4 separate regions of the Homo sapiens genome follow, and all the other regions are linked to region 3. Evidence: promoter capture Hi-C in 16 types of primary human blood cells and fetal thymus (Javierre and others, 2016). All regions are on one chromosome and are shown on one strand. Each heading gives the region's core, a stretch centred on a gene start or on the middle of the fragment in contact. The rest is flanking DNA. Distances are from core to core; before and after follow the strand shown. Region 1 has its middle 39 kb from the start of MTSS1. Region 2 holds the start of MIR4662B (microRNA 4662b). Region 3 holds the start of ZNF572 (zinc finger protein 572). Region 4 overlaps LOC105375741 (a long non-coding RNA gene).

What was found. The method cuts DNA at HindIII sites, captures the fragments that hold promoters and counts their contacts. A CHiCAGO score of 5 or more calls a contact.
Region 1: a fragment that was not itself captured here is called in contact with the fragment with the promoter of ZNF572 in region 3 in 1 of 17 cell types (M1 macrophages); the score reaches 5.0 in M1 macrophages.
Region 2: a fragment that was not itself captured here is called in contact with the fragment with the promoter of ZNF572 in region 3 in 2 of 17 cell types (M1 macrophages and erythroblasts); the score reaches 5.7 in M1 macrophages.
Region 4: a fragment that was not itself captured here is called in contact with the fragment with the promoter of ZNF572 in region 3 in 7 of 17 cell types (M1 macrophages, total B cells, megakaryocytes and 4 more); the score reaches 10.5 in M1 macrophages.

Annotation. Positions count from the first base shown.
Region 1 is chr8:124,766,495-124,769,293 of GRCh38, reverse strand. No RefSeq gene overlaps it. Among named protein-coding and RNA genes, the nearest start is that of MTSS1, 39 kb to the right of the region's middle. The HindIII fragment of the contact is 1,468 bases long and covers 520-1,987 here.
Region 2 is chr8:124,821,392-124,824,095 of GRCh38, reverse strand. It overlaps MIR4662B (microRNA 4662b), which reads left to right and starts at 2,038; the gene lies at 2,038-2,118. MIR4662A (microRNA 4662a) reads right to left here and starts at 2,111; the gene lies at 2,045-2,111. The HindIII fragment of the contact is 3,492 bases long and covers 1-2,704 here.
Region 3 is chr8:124,971,906-124,974,638 of GRCh38, reverse strand. ZNF572 (zinc finger protein 572) reads right to left here and starts at 1,344. Exons shown (of 3, transcript NM_152412.3): 1 at 1,223-1,344. RefSeq lists an enhancer at 1,242-1,401. The HindIII fragment of the contact is 4,233 bases long and covers 1-2,733 here.
Region 4 is chr8:124,739,046-124,741,859 of GRCh38, reverse strand. The region is part of intron 2 of LOC105375741 (a long non-coding RNA gene); the gene reads right to left. Among named protein-coding and RNA genes, the nearest start is that of MTSS1, 12 kb to the right of the region's middle. The HindIII fragment of the contact is 3,547 bases long and covers 1-2,814 here.

The sequences.
Region 1 (2,799 bases), core at 4-2,503, 210 kb after region 3:
TGAGTTTGAGCTTTAGAGTAAGACAGGACCATATTTGGATCCCGGCTCAATCACTAAAAATGTATAATGGAGATACAGGTAATAGCACTGCCTTCATGGGATTAAATGAGATTATCTGTGTCACATGCTTCGTATAGTGACTGATGTCAAGTGCTCAGTAAATATCAATCCTCTCTCTTATCATCTAACATAACAATAAAGGAGACAGTGGGCAATTTCTCTAGCTTGTATTGGCATAGAAAAGCTGAGCTCATTTAAAAGAGGAGTTGATAAATTATGTTGACAGACAAAATCTAGACTGCCACCAACTTTTGCAATTAAGCTTCATTGGCACCCAGCTACATCTATCCATTTATGGTTTGTGTATGGCTACTTTTGTGTAAGACGGGGCAGAGACCAGTTCATAAAGCCTAAAATATTCACTATCTGGCCCTTTGTAGAAAAAGTTTTCCCGCCTTGTTCTAGAACATGATGGAATTTTACTTCCAAACTTCCAGCCTAGTTTCTATTTTTGAAGCTTTTTACGCCAACTTTTTGCATTAATACTTTTCATTTGTTTCACTTTAGATTAATCTATTTATAACCCCCAAATACTCAGGATTAAGATATTCACTAGGAGACGATTGCAATCTACACTTGCTCTCTGATGTTCTACCCCCAAAGCCCTCTGACTTTCTTTGTAGCCTTTTACTGTGATAGCTCTAAAAATCTCAATGGAAGAATTGTCTGAGAGTCACTAAAATCCACTATCTTGCTCCACTGTTAAAGTCATGAACACTTTTGCGTGTATTAGCTTCAGAACCTTCACACGCATGTTCTTACTTGTTATCCCTATTTTGCAGATGAGAAAACTGAGGTTCAAAGAGGTTTGGCCACTTGCCAAACAGTAGTCAGTGGAAGAGTATTCTGACACCTCCTCTGATACTCCAACTATCATATCACTTTGTGTACAATCTATTCCCTGATGTTTCTAGTTTTGTTGGGGAAGAATCAAAGTACATAGCAAGTATGAAGGTAGTCCAAAATCTGACATTAATAAGTAAACAAGGAGTATGGAAACTCAGAGATAGAGGCTCCATAGAATTCTAAAAAGAACTGAGGCCTTTAAGTAATTAGAACTATTAGATCTGGCTTGCATGCTTTAAAAATTTACAAAAGCAGGAAGCATGGAATGCAAACCTATTAACTTGGCACGATAAACAACACTTGAACAAACTACCCTTGTGTGATACTAGCACTCAGCAAATTTAACTCATCATTCTGAAGGCCCACAAAGTGCCAAGCTCTATGTTAACACCCGGGGAGAGAATGGCCATTGTCTGGAGTCCTCTGCCAAGGGCACAATTCTTGTCAGGTGGCTCCTTCTCTCCAGTTCAGGAAAGCGCTGCTTACCCTGATGTCTTCAGACCTAAGGGTGGAAGCAGCTCCCTGCTGTTGCTAGCCCCCAGGGTTTCGCCAGCCTTCCTCAGTTTACCTGAAAATCTCCCACACATTTGAACTGATCCCTTATTAAACTCCCCACAATAATGCCTTTAGAATGGGCCATCTGTCTCCTGTGGGGATCCTAGGATACACTCTTAGAGAAATCCTAATAGCTACACCCTGTACTGTTTATGAATATGGACTTTGGAGTCAAACAACTCTGTATTTGAATCCCAGTTTCACTACATACAGATCCCTATGTGGACTAGGGCCACTTACCTAACCTCACTGAGACACAATTTCCACATTTATTTAATGAGGATAAGAATACTTACTGCATAAGTGTTATAAAGAAGGAATAAGATCATATATGGGAAATACTAAGTACTCAATCAATGGCAGCTCTCACAGGTATCCTAATTGCGGAGTGGGGAATGGGGACAAGTTAAGCAACAGAAACAGGGAAGTGTGAAGACACATGTACCCTGGTGCCTCCTGTGGTGAGGACTAGGCTATCAATGAAGAAAACCCTTCCAGGGACCCAGCAGGACGGTATCCCAAAGCTTCCCTGGCTCCTTGGAACTGCTGCAAGACTTTCAAAATAATAGCAGGAAAGAAAACCATTTGTCTCTTTATTTTTATTTTTTATTTTTTTGGGATGGAGTCTCGCTCTTTCACCCAGGCTGGAGTGCAGTGGTGTGATCTCGGTTCACTGCAAGCTCCGCCTCCCGGGTTCACACCATTCTCTTGCCTCAGCCTCCCCAGTAGCTGAGACTACAGGCACCCGCCATGATGCCCGGCTAATTTTTTGTATTTTTAGTACAGATGGAGTTTCACCGTGTTAGCCAGGATGGTCTCTATCTCCTGACCTCGTGATCCGCCCACCTCGGCCTCCCAAAGTGCTGGAATTACATGCGTCAGCCACCGCGCCCGGCCTTGTCTGCTTTTTTTTTTTTTTTCCATCAGTGTGAGACCACAGAACCCACCTTCCCAGCATCCTCCTCTTTGCTCTCTCCCCAAGAGTCACAGCTTGCGAGGCTTCTCAGGTGCACGTTCTCTAATTGTGCAGAGTGAGTGGCCTGTTCTGAAAACACAGGGCAAGAGAGAGCAGACTGTGTCCAGGCAAGCAGTCAACTTCTCCATGGAAATGCCAAGGTCAAGGTAACCCAGGGCAAAAGAACAGTCGAGGTTGGAGTCAGAAAGAAGAGAGAGCAGCACTAGCCCTTCTGCTGGTAGCTGCAGAGAAACAAAAGGGGGCTTTCATTTGTCTCTCTTCTGCCATTTCTGTTTTCCTTTCTGGCCACATAGTCTGGCTTTCTAAAAACCATGAATTAATTGCCTGCATTCATGTGTCTCATTTATTCCACGATTCACTTC
Region 2 (2,704 bases), core at 95-2,594, 150 kb after region 3:
CATGCTGGTGTGCCTTGGTAGGAGTGTGGACCTGAACTACAACAGGTCATTCACCCAGGCCCCCAGCTCTCCATCCCACAAATGGGCAGGGAAAGGCAGGGAGGTATAAAACACCGGCTTCCTACCTTCTGCTTCGATCCACAGAGAAGACTTAGGCCAGAGTGGCCCTGCACGTCCGCCTTTCCCCTCTCAGGGAGTCCCTCTTTCTGGGTTTGAGTCTTGCCAGTCCGAAACACGTGCGAATAGAATCCCAAAAGCACAGGGCCCAGGCTTTTTTCTGGGCGATGTGCTGTTTTTTTTTTTATATCTCAGACTATGGCTGTTACTGTCCATGGGCTCAACTAATGCAGAGAATTGTAGGACATCTAGCCCTGCTCCTAAAGGAGGCAAAATGATCCTTATCATGCCTGTTATAGCCAAGGAAGGCTGGACCCAATTCCACAGAACTCGAGATGGCGCTTTTCATTTCAAAGAAAAGACACTATGAGCCTTTCTCATATTTCACAGCATGCTGTGTGTTGCACTTGACCTCTACTCTTGCCCTCAGCTTCCCCAGGTGGCCTCGCCTCCCTGCTGCAGCCCCAAAGCAGTAAAGCTACAGCTCTGGGCCATGGGCTGTGGCTTCAGTGATCTAGGACCTGATTCTCCTAAAAACCACAAATGGATAGTTCTTCCAAAGACCCAGGGTCCTCATAGAACTCTCTAGAAACAGTAATGATCTCCTTGGAGCTCAAACAGTCCCTGAGCTATCAGACCCTGCCAACACCAGGGCTTAATGCTCAGGGAACACATTTTATGAGAGCAACTGTCACTCCTGAGCTTCTGTGGGTCACTTGAAATCACCCAGTTATTTTTCACTCAGCTGAGGGGCAGTATAGTTCTGACGGGTGGCTTTGGGTTCACTGCCTTCAACTCCAGTCAGAAAACGTTAGTGCTGAAATGGATCCGGGGTACAAATAGTTGGGTTGTTGACATGCTTTCTTCTGTTGTATACATAAAGGTTCCACATACAAAAACCTATTTGCAAAGAGAGGTCAGATGCTTAAATGTGAATAATAAAAATGCTTATCCATGGGTACTCTAGTTTAATCTCCTCATTACAAGAGGAATCTGAGGCCCAGAGAGAGAAAGTGACTTGTCCAAAATCATACAACTAATATTGCAGCCAGCAATAGAACAAAGAGAGCTCAGGAATTCTGGGTCCCAGTGACTATGGAAAACAATTGTCTGAAATTTTACCACTAGAAATTGCTACTCCCTGCCCCATACTACCTGAGTCTTATTTAGGTAAACAGATAGTAAATATAAACATTATCATTGTAAAAAAATGTTTTAAAGACCAAATATATTTATAAAGTTTTTTAAAGTGATCTTTTGTACCCCTTTGTACTCTACCCAATCCCATTCATTTCCCGAAGGATGTCCGATGTTAACAAATGAGTGTCAAGTCCTTCTAGGCCTTTTTCTATGCACTTAGGAATGTGTTTACAATATATGACTGGGTTTTAAAAATACATACTTATATACTATATGTATGTAGATATAAGTATAAATTTATAAGCCATATTTATATATTATGCCATTTATAAATATAAAATCAAATTGTTCTGTTTTGAGACTTCCTTTGTTCACCTAACCTTGTGTCTTGGCACTTTTTCTCTCTCTTTTTTTTTTCTTTTTGAGATTTTGCTCTTGTTGCCCAGGCTGGAGTGCAATGGCACAATCTCAGCTCACTGCAACCTCCACCTCCCAGATTCAAGCGATTCTCCTGCCTCAGACTCCTGAGTAGCTGGGATTACAGGTGCCTGCCTCCATGCCCACCTAATTTTTGTATTTTTAGTAGAGACAGGGTTTCGCCATGTTGGCCAGGCTAGTCTCAAACTCCTGACCTCAGGTGATATAACCATCTTGGCCTCCCAAAGTGCTGGGATTACAGGTGTGAGCCACCGTGCCCATCCATGGCACTCTTTCCATGTTGGTCAATAGAATCTTGATGTTTTGTCGATGGCTTCATGGTATTCCATTGTATGGATGTACCACAATTTCTATTTAGCCAATTGTCTATCTTTAGGCATTCAGAATAGCTAAAGATGGACAATTGGCTAAATAGACACTGTGGTACACAATGGCTTTTTCTGTTGCAGCCATGGTTGCAGTAAACTTCCTTGTATATAAATCTCTGGGACATGAGCCAATGTTTCTTCAGAAGAGATACCTAGAAGTGAAGATGTGAGATCATTTGTCTACAGAAGGTTTCACTTTAAGTTGTAATGACTCGCCTTAATGTTGTCCAAAGGTTGTTTTTCTAAACCTTATTTGAGGGCCCACAACAGCCATAAACTTTTACTTATGTTTCACCTAGAATCATCACAGCAATCCTGTGAAAGCAAAGTATGATCCCTATTTTTCAAAAAAACTCACTGAAGTAGGAACAGACGAAAAATATCTCAATTTGTGAAAAAGCATTTACAAAAAAAAAAAAACATCTAACATCATACTTAATGGTGCCAACTGAACGTCTTCCCACTGAGATTGGGAATAAGACAAAGATGTCTGCTTTCAACATCTTCTTCAACAGGGTAGTAGAAGTTCTAGCCAGTGCAATATAGCAAGAAAAAGAAATACAAGACATACAGATTGAAAAGAAAGAAATAAAATCATCTCTATTTGCAGATAACATGATTGTCTATTTATACAATCCTAA
Region 3 (2,733 bases), core at 95-2,594:
ATGGACTTTTGGCATCCATTTCAGAATATAAAGAGTATCATTATTTGGGAGAAAAATAAGGACGTAAAAGGATATACAAATGCACACATTTTAAAAACAAAAAATAGTATATGTACTTATATTGTATCTTCACCATTACTGCCTATTATGTGCCAGGTAGTGAATGAAATAATTTGCACACATTTGTCATTTAATTCTTACAGTAGCCCTCTGAAGTGTATGAACAACTACCAGCATTTTATAGGATGAGTTTGAAAGGTATTAAGAAACTTTCCTAAGGTCACCTAGAAAGTGGTAGAGCAGGACTGAGCTCCAAGTCTGTTTGGATGCTGACCTTTTTCACCCTCTGATCTATTATCGTAAACTAGAACAGGAAGCAGAGCTGGGCATAATCCCAAACTGCAAAGAATCCTCAGAGTCCCTTTATTTTAGAATATTTAGAATACTGGCATTTTAAAACAGAGGTCTACATTCCTAAACCTTGTTAACAAAGTGAGTCGACATTCCCTAAGCACACTCAGCAAGTGGGGATTTGTTCTAGAGAAACGTGAAACTAGTCTACATTACTAATATCCCCAGTGTTTGAGTTGGGGGGGAGAAAAAACCATACACCTGAATGCAAAAAAAGGAAGGGGGTGGAGTTGTTCGAATGGAGTTATATATTTTGCTGTCCTAAGTTACATATTGTTATCAAAGTATTTACAAAAGCAGCAAGAGTCTGGGCAACACATTACCATCTCCCCCATTTTCCCTACTAAAATACTATTAAATTTGGCAGCAAAGGAGCCCCCGGAACAGTGGCTCAGCAAAATGGTGGCAAATGCAAGACCATACAAGGCTGCCATTAAGATGTCTCTCCACGGGGAAGGAGTGTTTTCACTGTTCTAGAGCAACAATGTGATCAGAGTGGGGCCGTGCTTTGATCAGAAAGCCTTCAAAGAAAATGCACTGCCTGAAGCCTAGTTTTAAGAACCGCTGGCTGGTACAAGTTGGAGACGCTGGGGGGTGAAGTTCCAGGATACCAGACGGTCTCCGGCCGACAAGATCCCGTAAGGGACCCCGCGGACAAGGATGACGGTGGCCCGTCGGCGGGAGATGCTGGGCCTTCGCCCCTGGCAGCAGCGGGAACTCTCTCCCGGACGTCCACTGCAGCCTGGACGGGGCTGTTTCCACTCCTCTAGCCCGCAACCCTCGGCTCCCTTCCCCCCAAGAAGGAACTCACTGTTCTGGGTGCTACACCCAAGGCGCCCTGCACCCCCAGCGGTCCGGGAGGAAGGTACCCCCTCTCCCTCTGACCCCACCAACCCAGGGTCCTAAACTCTCAAACCCGGAAGGCAGAAACAGGAAGTTACCCTCATCTCCCCCGGCGGCTTTGCTGGGGCCGTTCTAGGAAACAGTGATGGCCCACTCTCGTTGATCTTAACCCTTAGGGTCCTGGACCAGAAGGAGCGTGGGGGTGGATTTCCTTTCCCTGTGCTGTGACCAGCCAACTGTGAACCTCATTTCTCTCACTTGTCAGGCGGCTTACGACAGGGGCCTGATTGGAGCTTATACTTTTCCTTGCCATCAGAATATCATCAGATTAATTATCATCACTATTAGAATCAAAATCAATCTAGTATTTTTCTTTTTTGAGACGGAGTCTCGCTGTTGCCTAGGCTGGAGTGCAGTGGCGCGATCTCGGCTCACTGCAAGCTCCGCCTCCTGGGTTCACGCCATCCTCCTGTCTCAGCCTCTCGAGTAGCTGGGACTACAGGTGCCTGCCACCATGCCCGGCTAATTTTTATATTTTTCGTAGAGACGGGGTTTCACCGGGTTAGCCAGGATGGTCTCGATCTCCTGACCTCGTGATCCGCCCACCTCGGCCTCCCAAAGTGCTGGGATTACAGGCGTGAGCCACCGCGCCCGGCCTCAATCTAGTATTTTTAAACACCTATTGTTTCTGTTCCCACCGCTATGAACATGGATATATATTTACTTACCTGTGAAAGTTAGAAAGCTAAGGCATCCATTCACATATAAAACAATTCGTTTACAAGGCACCCTTATTAACACCTAGAAAAGTAGTTAATCCCTCCTCTTTCATTACAGAGAAAATAGAAGCCAATCCCTTCATCTCACCTCTACCAAACAGAAATCTACTCAAGTCTGCACCCTGCCGTTTTCTTTCTTCCCTCCTGTTACAATACAGAGTCCCTCTGTGACCTTTTTTTTTTTTTTTTTTTTTTTTGTGATGGAGTTTCACTGTGTCACCAGTCTGGAGTGCAATGGCAGGATTTCGGCTCACTGCAACCTCTGCCTCCCGGGTTCAAGCAATTCTCCTGCCTCAGCCTCCCAAGTAGCTAGGACTACAGGTGTGCGCCACCATGCCCAGCTAATTTTTGCATTTTTAGTAGAGACTGGGTTTCACCATGTTGGCCAGGATGGTCTTGATCTCTTGACCTCATGATCTGCCCGCCTCAGCCTCCCAAAGTGCTGGGCTCTTTGGTATTTTAATAAGCCCTTTACTGGTACTCACTTTCCTACCTATCTTCTTGGAAACTTCGCACTACCAACTAAACTCTCCATCCCTCCACCCCCATCCCCAAATAGTCCCTCAGCTTTTCTTTTCTCTTTTTACTCACAATGTTTCCATTTCATCAATTTTCCACTAACCTTAACATTTCTCCTGCAACAACAACAACAAAAAAATCACTAGCATCACCAATGACCTCCATGATGTTAGTTAGTGCA
Region 4 (2,814 bases), core at 294-2,793, 230 kb after region 3:
AGTCCTCTCAGGGGATAAAGCTGACTGCTAGGTGGTAGTGGGAAAGGGCATGTAGAGATAAGAGAAGGAAAATTCTCGATAAAATAGAGCCTCATGTCTAGTTTACATGCATAGCTGCTCCTGGACAGCTATTCCCTCTCCTCTCCAGCCTGGTTCCCAGCTCCGCTCCACAGGTTCTCTCCTTTCTTTCCTTTTCTAGAAAGTTCTTGTTCTGCCTCACTATTCCCACCACACATAGCCTTTTGGTTCTCTATGTCTGCACTGCATAATCTAACACAGTGGCTCCCAATGTGCTTTTTAAATATGAGGCCATCTTTAACCATTTAAAATTGTATTTATCTGTATAAAACTAAAACATACTTGTAAAAATAATACAAATATTTTGCCAGGCATGGAGCAGAGTCCTCAGTCAGTATGCATTTCTTCTCCAGGGTAAAACAGAGTCCAGTAAGGTGGTTTTAGCTGTGATGCACTGGGGAGATGGTGCTGTGTGTTGTCAAGAAATTTAGAATTAGAAGTTTTGGGTTCTGGTAATATTTCTGCCACTTACTAGTTGTATGCCTCTGAGAAGTCCACAGCTCCAAGCCTGTTTCTGCTCCTGGAATGTAAGTCCAGTTGAGCCCTTTCACAGCCAACCCACCCCCGTGTCAGTGTGAGATCTGCACAGTATCTGCGAAAATGCTTCATAAATTATCTAGAGTTATGCAAATGTGAGTATTATGGGGATTACAGTATGTTATTGCCTGGAATCATGCTTCCAGTATTTTAAAGAATCCATTAATGGGATGCTCTTAAATTTTTTTTTTCCTGGCATTATTCTCAGCCAGGCTGCAACAAGGAGTCTTACTTGATCAGTATGGCCTTTACTTAGGTATTTACTTAGCTTTTAGGTCTTTAAAGCAGCACATGATTTTCAAGTGAGTTATTCAATTAATCGTTTCTGTATCACTCTGATGCCCCTTTGGACTGTCTGCTTATTGAAAGCCGTCCCATCTGGAGGGACTGCCCTAACTCCCTGCTCATCCTGCAAACAGATCAAATGGCCTCCAGGGGAAATCCCAATTAATGGCAAAATCAATTAGTCACAAGTTGGGAAGAAAGAGAGAGCCAAATGGTTACCCAACACATAATGTACCTTCCTTTACACAATGTGTGGTCCAGTAATGCATCTAGATGGGATTTCTACAAATTGAATCAAAACGAAGGAGATTGCTATTTAAAGGACCCCTGGGGGGAATTATCTGATAAAAGATCTTTCCATATTCATGAATGAGTCTCTAGAGAGAACTGCTATTTCTAAATTTGTATTCTTAAAATCCAGTTTTCAAATTATTATTATATTAAAACAGTTTCTATAATGATAATAGTCATAGAGATCCAATGACTAAAAAGTACATGAATTGTGTGGCTATAGGTATTTCTCCTCTGGGAGTTAAAGTTTAAAGAGAGATGGTACCTTGATGATAGGTCCTTTATACAAGGACCTTCCTTGTATACAAGTCCCTTCCTTCACTTTGACAAAGGAAGAAAAATTTCAACTCATGCTAAAGAAAATCTCAAACAATTAGTTATAATCAATAAAGGAATGGGTTGCCCTTTGAAGTATTAAGCTGCCTGTCAGAAAAAAATTTACATTATAAAGAACAACTTTGTGGAAATCTGTTTTCATTTTATGATTAGTCTTGAATTTGTTCTAGAAAATACACATCTGTGGAGGTGTGAGATGGGAAGCCCTCTCCTATTTCAACAGGTTTATGTTAAAATAGCTTTAGTGTAAAATAAATATAAACAACAAGTTCTGGGGGAGAGGAACTGTCCCAGTGGCCATTGGGAAGAAGAATAGGTTGCAGCCACCTGCTTTGTCTACTGATGCGGGTCTCCTGCTGTTTGTATTTATAGACACATCAAGGCAGGGACAGGGTATCAGAGCACGTGGGGGAAGATGAAGCATCACCTGAGAAAGGCCTTTCTTCTTTCACCATGAATGCCTCCTTGAGTCACTGCCTGGAGCCAACAGCACCATCCCTTCCTTAATCTCTTTTCCCAACTGTTTCTGCAACACATAAACATGCACATACACACAGAGACAGACATATATGTCTAGATATCTAAAACAGACAAAGAACCCAGAGAGAGCTTAAAATCAGGTCTGCAGGTCAGCCAGACTCATATGGAAGACATCACGTGGAAGGGACCAACCCTCTCATTTTACAAATGAGGAAAGCGAGGCACAGAGAGGCTAATGTGACTCACCTGCCACTCAGGTGGGCAAGTCATTTCTTTTCCCTCCATCTCCTGATGTGCATCACAGCATCTTCCTGCCTTGAAGACAGGGAGCCAGGGGTGTTGTGCTCATTAGTCGGGTAATGGCTGCCACCACCTTTGAAGCTGCTGGATAGGATCCCAGGTAAATAGCATTACCCCCTGCAAATGAAATGGTTCCCTGTACACAACCTGTTTTCACTTGTTGCCTGTGGCCGCTGGCCACTTGTGGCTGGAAAGATTACTACTGAACTCCAGGTCATAAGCCTCCATCTGCTCACAACCTTCAGAAAATAGGAGGGCTGGGTCTGGTTCTTATTATTAAAAGCAAACAAACCCATTATTAAAAGTAAACAAGACAGAACTGCTTTGAAACAATTGACTAAATGTCTCCTGGCTCAGAAGCCTAAATTCACCCCTATTAGCCCAAACCAAGCCTTCCTTAGTGAGAATCTAGAGAGGAAAGCTAAAAGTTTCTTGTTAAAAAGAATCCCCCTGCCCCCCTGCCCCCCTGCCCCCAACACCACCATTCTCTTGGGCATTCAGTAACTG